2 separate regions of the Homo sapiens genome follow, and region 1 is linked to region 2. The links are contacts of gene promoters, found by promoter capture Hi-C in blood cells and fetal thymus (Javierre and others, 2016). All regions are on one chromosome and are shown on one strand. The core of a region is centred on a gene start or on the middle of the fragment in contact, and the rest is flanking DNA. Distances in the headings are between cores, read along the strand shown.

Region 1 (4,020 bases), core at 1,444-3,943, 390 kb before region 2:
AACTGTACAAGGAGCCTACCAATGAGGAGCTTAATCGCCTTCGGGAGACTGAGATCTTGTTCCACTCCAGCTTGCTTCGTTTACAGGTACTGTTGAGTGTCTGCAGCTTTTGTTCGAGGTGTGTACCTGGGACCCTGAGGCTGATGGACTGTCTTCTACCCTCTCTTACAGGTAGAGGAGCTACTAAAGGAAGTAAGGCTGTCAGAGAAGAAGAAGGATCGGATTGATGCCTTCCTACGGGAGGTCAACCAGCGGGTTGTGAGGGTGCCCTCAGTCCCTGAGACAGAGGTAAGCAAGTGGCCTGGGGAACTGGGAAGCCCAAGAGAGACCTCCAGTGGGGGTATATCAAACAGGGGCCTTGCTGTTACTCTGTTTAAGGGTTGGGGTGCAGGGAGCTCATTCTCACAGCAAGGAAGCTTAGCTGGGAGCGTGGTCATTTGTGTATTCATTCAGCAAGTACTTCCATGCCTTGCAGTATTTGTGTTCTTAGGATATATCAGTAAATAATAGCCTATGCTGTAATGCTGAGGTTATAGTTAATAGATAAGCATAACAGGTAAACTCTATGGCAATGTTAGAATGTGGTAAACACTGGAAAAAGGAAAAAGTAGGACGAGCAATGTAAGGGGATTGGGAGTATTAGAGGATGGGAGTGGTTTACAAGTTTAAAGGGGGTGTTCACAAAGTAGGCCTTATTGAAGTGACATTTGTGTAAAGACTTGAAGTAGGTGAGTCAGCTATATAGATATCTAAGGGAATAAAAGCATTCCAGGAAGGGGGAACAGCCAGTACAAAGGCACAAAGGCAGGAATGTTCCAGTTACATTCCTTGGAATGAATGAGGAATACAGAAGGAGATGAGTTCAGAAAGGTGATGGGGAAAAGTAGCATATCATGCAGGGCATTGTGTCCCGAAGTAGGGACTTTGGCTGTTGCTCTGGGTGAGATGGGGAGCCACTGCTGGATTTTATTTTGCAGAACAGTGATGCCCTCTAACTTTTAAAAGTTCACGTTTTTGTTTTTGTTTTTGAGACGAAGTCTCGCTCTTGTCCTCCACACTGGAGTGCAATGGCGCGATCTCAGTTCACTGCAGCCTCCACCTCTCGGGTTCAAGCTATTCTCCTGCCTCAGCCTCCCGAGTAGCTGGGATTATCACACCCGGCTAATTTTTTTGGTATTTTTAGTAGAGAGGGGGTTTCACCATGTTGGCCAGGTTAGTTTTGAACTCCTGACCTCAGGTAATTTGCTCTCCTTGGCCTTCCAAAGTGCTGGGATTACAGGTGTGAGCCACCGTGCCCAGCCTAAAACGTTCACTTTTCCAGCCTTAAAAAGTTTAGTTTTAGAAAAATTTACTCCGGCTGTTGTGTCAAAAGTAGAATCGAGAGGGACAATGATGAGATTAGAGAGACCAGTTAGGAACTAGTCTAGGCACTGAGAAATGGTGGCTCCTCAAACTAGGGAGGAAAGTAGTGAAGTGATCCATTTCTTTCTTTTTTTTTTTTTTTTTTAAATCTTTTCCTCTCTCTGTTTTAAAAAAGTTTTCTTTTTAGAGAAGTGATCCATTTCTGAATACATTTTGGTAGTAAAATGGGTATTCTTTTTTTTTTTGAGACAGAGTCTTGCTCTGTTCCCCAGGCTGTAGTGCAGTGGTGCGATCTCGGCTCACTGCATGCTCCGCCTTCCGGGTTCACGCCATTCTTCTGCCTCAGCCTCCCCAGCAGCTGGGACTACAGGCGCACGCCGCCATGCCCGGCTAATTATTTTTGTAGAGACGGGGTTTCACCGTGTTAGCCAGGATGGTCTCGATCTTCTGACCTCGTGATCCGCCCACCTCGGCCTCCCAAAGTGCTGGGATTACAGGCGTGAGCCACCACGCCCGGCTCGTAAAATGGGTATTCTTAACAGAGCTAAGTTAAGGTGATTTAAGTGGTTTTGGCTTGAGCAACTCATATGGAGTTGTCTTAGCAAGGAAGACATAGTTATGGGAAGATTGGGAGTTTGGTTTCAAACATATCGATGTGTTAAAATGTCTTCTAGACATAAAGGGTACATGTGAGGAAGGCAGTTGAATCAGTATGTGTCCCTGTCTCTGCCCCCACAGCTCACTGACCAGGCATGGCTCCCAGCTGGGGTTCGAGTGCCCCTCCACCAAGTGCCCTATGCCGTGAAGGGCTGTTTCCGCTTCCTGCCCCCAGCCCAGGTTACTGTTGTGGGCAGCTACCTTCTGGGCACCTGCATCCGACCAGACATCAATGTGGATGTGGCACTGACCATGCCCAGGGTAAGGTCCAGGGTTTAGGGGATAGAGGCCCACCACCTGACTACCTACAAATCCTGGATCCCTCTTTCTTATCTGCCGCTTGCCAGGGGATTGAAGTCAGAATTCTAAATCAGAAGAGCAGACCATTGCAGGCATCCTGAAGGCAGCTTAGATCCCTCGGGCCAGTTGCTGTCCTTTTGGAGCTTTGCTCTCCAGATATGAGAACTGGGCCTAGTGTTGCTAACCGTGGCTCAGGCACTTCTGTCAGCAGAGGAGCCCTGGCTCTCTCACCTTGGTTTCACCTTGGCCCACAGCTCCACAAGCACTTATGTGCCTGGCCTTCTCTTCTCCCCTGGCCCCTCCAGGAAATCCTACAGGACAAGGACGGGCTGAACCAGCGCTACTTCCGCAAGCGTGCCCTCTACCTGGCCCACTTGGCTCACCACCTGGCCCAGGACCCCCTCTTTGGCAGTGTTTGCTTCTCCTACACAAATGGCTGCCACCTGAAACCCTCACTGTTGCTGCGGCCGCGTGGTGAGAGGCACACATTGGGCTGAGGGCATAGCATGGGATGGTAAATCTGGAGGAGAAGGCACAGAGGCACGGAGGCCTCAAGTATGGGGGGACAGGATGGGGAGCCCTCTGGCTCCAAGGGCTCCTGCAGAGTCTCAGCACTCACTGTCTCTGGCAGGAAAGGATGAGCGCCTGGTCACTGTACGTCTGCATCCGTGCCCTCCACCTGACTTCTTCCGCCCGTGCCGCTTGCTGCCAACCAAGAACAATGTGCGCTCTGCCTGGTACCGAGGGCAGAGTCCTGCAGGGGATGGTGAGCAGGCCCTGGTGTTGAGGTGGAGCTGGAGGGAAGAGGTGTGGGGACTTTTCCTCTCATGGCTTCCCTTTTCATCCCACAGGTAGCCCAGAGCCTCCTACCCCCCGCTATAACACATGGGTCCTGCAAGATACAGTTCTCGAGTCCCATTTGCAGCTGCTGTCAACCATTCTGAGTTCAGCCCAGGGCCTGAAGGATGGCGTGGCACTTCTGAAGGTCTGGCTGCGGCAGCGGGAGCTGGACAAGGTGAGTTGGGGGTGGCGCAGCCTCCCTACCTGAGCGCCTGTGTGATGGGCAGGCTCTGACCTCAGCCTCTCCCTGTCTCTTTCAGGGCCAGGGTGGGTTTACTGGGTTCCTTGTCTCCATGCTGGTTGTCTTCCTTGTGTCTACACGCAAGATCCATACCACCATGAGTGGCTACCAGGTCCTGAGAAGTGTCTTGCAGTTTCTGGGTGAGGCAACTAGGTGGGGAAAGGCCAGGGGCTCCACTCCTCCTGGGAATCCTCTCATCCCAGTAGCAGTCTTTTGGTGTTTTGCCATCAGACAGATGAGCAAACTGAATCGGCTGAGGGAGGGTGTCATTAGGGCTGGGTCCCCAGAAGGGGATACCTTCTAATACACTTGTGATTCACTTCAGCCACTACAGACCTGACAGTCAACGGGATCAGTTTATGTCTCAGCTCAGATCCCTCTTTGGTGAGTTGGGGAAGGGCCAGGTCTATGCCAGGAGGCCTGCAAGTAAGGTGCCAATCCTGACCTGCTTCTCTCTACACCCCCCAAGCCGGCCCTGGCTGACTTCCACCAGGCCTTCTCCGTTGTCTTCCTGGATTCCTCAGGCCATCTCAACCTCTGTGCTGATGTCACTGCCTCTACTTACCACCAGGTACCAATGGGCCCCCAATCTGTGTTCCCCTGATGTCTCAGCCCAGACT
Region 2 (3,922 bases), core at 83-2,582:
AGTGTTATGTTGGTTTTGAATGTATTAATATCCCATCAGGTATTGCATATTCAGCCTCATCTTAAATCTAATCAACTAATTACATCAAACGAAAGCAACATTGGCTGGGCGCAGTGACTCACGCCTGTAATCCCAGCACTTTGGGAGACCGAGGCGGGCGGATCACGAGGTCAGGAGTTCGAGAACAGCCTGACCAACATAGTGAAATCCCATCTCTACTAAAAATACAAAAAATTAGCCTGGCGTGATGGCAAGAAACCTGTAATCCCAGCTACTCCGGAGGCTGAGGCAAGAGAATCTCCTGAACCCGGGAGGCAGAGTTTGCAGTGAGCCGAGATCGCGCCATTGTGCTCTTCAGCCCGGGCGACAGTGCGAGATTCCGTCTCAAAAAAAAAGCAATCTTTCCAAACCAGTGCTCTTTCTTTTCTTTCTTTTCTTTTCTTTCTTTTCTTCTTTCTTTTCTTTGCTTTTCTTACTACAATCTTATCACCACTACTTTTCTTTTCTTCTTTTGAGACGGAATTTTGCTCTCCTTGCCCAGGCTGGAGTGCAATGGTGTGATCTCGGCTCACCGCATCCACCTCCAGAGGTGAAACGATTCTCCTGCCACAGACTCCCGAGTAGCTGAGATTACAGGCGCCCCCGCCACCACGCCCGGCTAATTTTTTGTATTTTTAGTAGAGACGGGGCTTCACCATGTTGCCCAGGCTGGTCTCGAACTCGCGCGCTGGGAGTACAGGCGCGAGCCACCGCGCTCCGCCCCAGCGCTTTTCTTTTTCAGTACATTTGTGAGCTGTATGGCGCCCGGTGCTTTTTTTCTTTTTCTTTTCTATCTTTCTTTTTTTTTTTTTTTTTTTTTTGAGACGGAGTTGCGCTCTTGTTTTCCATGCTGGGGTGCAATGGCGCGATCTCGGCTCACCGCAACCTCCGCCTCCTGGGTTCAAGCGATTCTCCTGCCTCAGGCTCCCGAGTAGGGATTACAGGCATGCGCCACTACGCCCGGCTAATTTTGTATTTTTAGTAGAGACGGGGGTTTCTCCATGTTGGTCAGGCTGGTCTCGAACTCACGACCTCAGGTGATCGCCCGCCTCGGCCTTCCAAAGTGTTGGGATTACAAGCGTGAGCCACCGCACCCGGCTCCGGCCTGCTTTTAAACAGTCTTCCTCCTGATGCGTATTTCTCTGGGGCAGGGGCATAAACTCCGCCCTCTGACAGCCCCTGAGGGCTCCGCCCCTACGCGAACCTCGCCCCTACTCTTCGTTCACTCTATCTCCAGAGCGGGAGCCAGACGCCGACCCAAGCGGAAGTGACGTTAGGTGTCCGCCGGAGGTGTCGTTGGTGTGTTGCGCGACTGGCCTTGAGGGAGAGCTGGGGCCTGCTCCCGGAGAGATACGGCTATGTCGATCGAAATCGAATCTTCGGAGTGAGTCCTGCGGTGGGGATGTTCGCGCCTTGCCGGGGGCCTGGAGGTTAAGGGTGTGGGGCGGAGGGTACTCGGGAGAAGGCATCCGAGAGGCCAGGGAGTGGAGGGCCATTTCCTTGCCCCCAAAGAAGCATCTTGGATCTCGCTACCTCGGAGGTGGGCCCACAGGAAAGTAGCAGCTCTCAGACGTGAAGCCCAAAACCTCGAGGGAGGTGGCACGGGTGGGGAAAACACACCTTGCAGACCTAAGTTCTGTCCTTGGCCGACTGCTGGCGCGCTGTGATTGACCAAATTAAGGATCCACTCTGGACTCCAGTCTAATTATCTGCGCAAGGGGATAGGTCTCTTTAAGCCTTGCTTCTCTCCCTGTCCAGCTTATGCAATGTGATTCGTTGTCTCTGCTTATACGGCCCCTTTGCTTTTCTCTGCCTAGCGTTTATCACTCAGTATTGTCACTGTTTGATAACCTCACCCCAAACTAGCCTTTGTCGGTGCCTAGGAGCTCCTTTTCCTTGTGGTCTCAGTGTCTAGCATACCTTAGAGGAAGAGTTAATTGCTTTTGGAATGAATGAACAACTAGCTTTTGGAATGAATGAACAACTATCAGGCCCGATCTGGCACGGAATTTTGGGTTGTCTGGGGAGAGACAGACTGGAGACTGGGCTAGAAAGAAAAATTTTCAAGGAATAGGGGATGAGAATTAGTGACTAAAGAAGACCTTAGTGTGCTTTTCCAGAACTCCATCCTCCACCTGTCCTTGCCAACACTTAATAATAATTAAATTAACAGACATAAAAATTGTGTCTGAGTGTAAGGGAGGGAGAGGACCTTTTTTGGAGACTTTTCATAGGAGGAAGGGAGGTTTATGCATTCAGCAAATACTGAAATGATGTTAACCTACTTGTCCAAGGTCACATAACTTTGATTCAAATCCCAGACTATCTTCAAAGCTTCTAGCTCTTTATGTATTCATTTCTGTTTGAAGGTAGGGAATTTGATTTTGGCTATGTCAAATGTGAGCTGTTTGAGGAGAGAGATGACTTATTTTGGGAGTGTAAAATGGAAGTCAACGGACATGTGCTAAGGAAGATAGTATCATAGCAGAATAACAGGGGTCTAAGTCTGGATACCTGCATACCTCATAAAGGGGCCATGAGAGAAAAAGACTACTGCAGGTAGCAGCAATCAGTTCCCTTTTTTTTTTTTGAGACGGAGTCTCACTCTGTCACCCAGGCTGGAATGCAGTGGCGCGATCTCCGCTCACTGCAAGCACCGCCTCCCACGTTCACGCCATTCTCCTGCCTCAGCCTCCCGAGTAGCTGGGACTACAGGCGCCCACCACCATGCCCGGCTAATTTTTTTGTATTTTTAGTAGAGACGGGGTTTCACCGTGTTAGCCAGGATGGTCTCGATCTCCTGACCTTGTGATCTGCCCGCCTCGGCCTTCCAAAGTGGTGAGATTACAGGCGTGAGCCACCGCGGCCGGCCTATAGTTGTTTTTAAGAAGAGGGGCCAGGTGCGGTGGCTCACACCTGTCATCTCAACACTTTGGGAAGCTGAGGTGGATGGATCACTTGAGCCCAGAAGTTTGAGACCAGCATGGTCAACATGGCAAAACCACGTCTCTACAAAAAATACAACAATTAGCCAGTGTGGTGGTGCATGCCTGTGGTCTCAGCTACTCGGGAGGCTGAGGTGAGAGGATCACCTGATCCCAGGAGGCCCAGGCTGCAGTCAGCCACAATCACGCCACTATTCTGTCCAGCCTGAGCGATGCAAGTGACCATTTCTCAAAAAAAAAAAAAAAAAAGAGGATGTTTGCTTTCTCCTCAGGAATACATGCTCTAGAGCCACACTGCCAGTTTGAGTCCTGATTTTTCCACTTATTATCTCTATTATCTGATCAAATCCTCATCTGTAAATTGGGGATAAAAGTAAACTTACCTCATAGGTTTTATTTTATTTATTTTTTTGAGACAAGGTCTTGCTCTCTTTCCCAGGCTAGAGTGCAGTGGCATGATCACGGCTCACTGCAGCCTCAACCTTATGGATACAAGCAATCCTCCCACCCCAGCTTCCCAGGTAGCTGGGACCACAAGCACACACTATCATGCCTAGCTAATTTTTTTTTTTGTGTGTGTGTGTGTGTAGAGAAGGGGTCTTCTTATGTTGCCCATGCTGGTCTTGAACTCATGGGCTCAAGGGATCCTCCCACATCAACATCCCAAGTAGCTGGGACTACAGGCACATGCCACCATGTTTGGCTAATTTAAAAAAAAATTTGTAGAGATGGGGTCTCACAGCTGCCTGATCTGGTCTCAAACCTCCTGGTTTCCAGCCAATCCTCCTGCCTCAGCCTCCCAAATTACTGAGATTACAGTCATGAGCCAGCATGCCCAACCTCATTTAGATTATTTTGTATAAATAACTAGTCTAGTCATTTAAAGTATTTCAGTGAAGTGTGCTACAATATAATTACAAGAATGAATAGGAAACTAG

The links. The method cuts DNA at HindIII sites, captures the fragments that hold promoters and counts their contacts. A CHiCAGO score of 5 or more calls a contact.
Region 1: a fragment that was not itself captured here is called in contact with the fragment with the promoter of SMU1 in region 2 in 6 of 17 cell types (naive B cells, non-activated CD4 T cells, fetal thymus and 3 more); the score reaches 6.6 in naive B cells.

Annotation. Positions count from the first base shown.
Region 1 is chr9:33,468,272-33,472,291 of GRCh38, reverse strand. NOL6 (nucleolar protein 6) reads left to right here. Exons shown (of 26, transcript NM_022917.5): 2 at 1-86; 3 at 172-288; 4 at 2,101-2,280; 5 at 2,625-2,793; 6 at 2,951-3,085; 7 at 3,171-3,334; 8 at 3,420-3,540; 9 at 3,726-3,784; 10 at 3,870-3,971. Among named protein-coding and RNA genes, the nearest start is that of MIR6851, 2.3 kb to the right of the region's middle. The HindIII fragment of the contact is 4,549 bases long and covers 419-4,020 here.
Region 2 is chr9:33,074,084-33,078,005 of GRCh38, reverse strand. SMU1 (SMU1 DNA replication regulator and spliceosomal factor) reads left to right here and starts at 1,332. Exons shown (of 12, transcript NM_018225.3): 1 at 1,332-1,423. The coding sequence starts at 1,398. RefSeq lists enhancers at 951-1,150, 1,321-1,470. The HindIII fragment of the contact is 3,581 bases long and covers 1-2,375 here.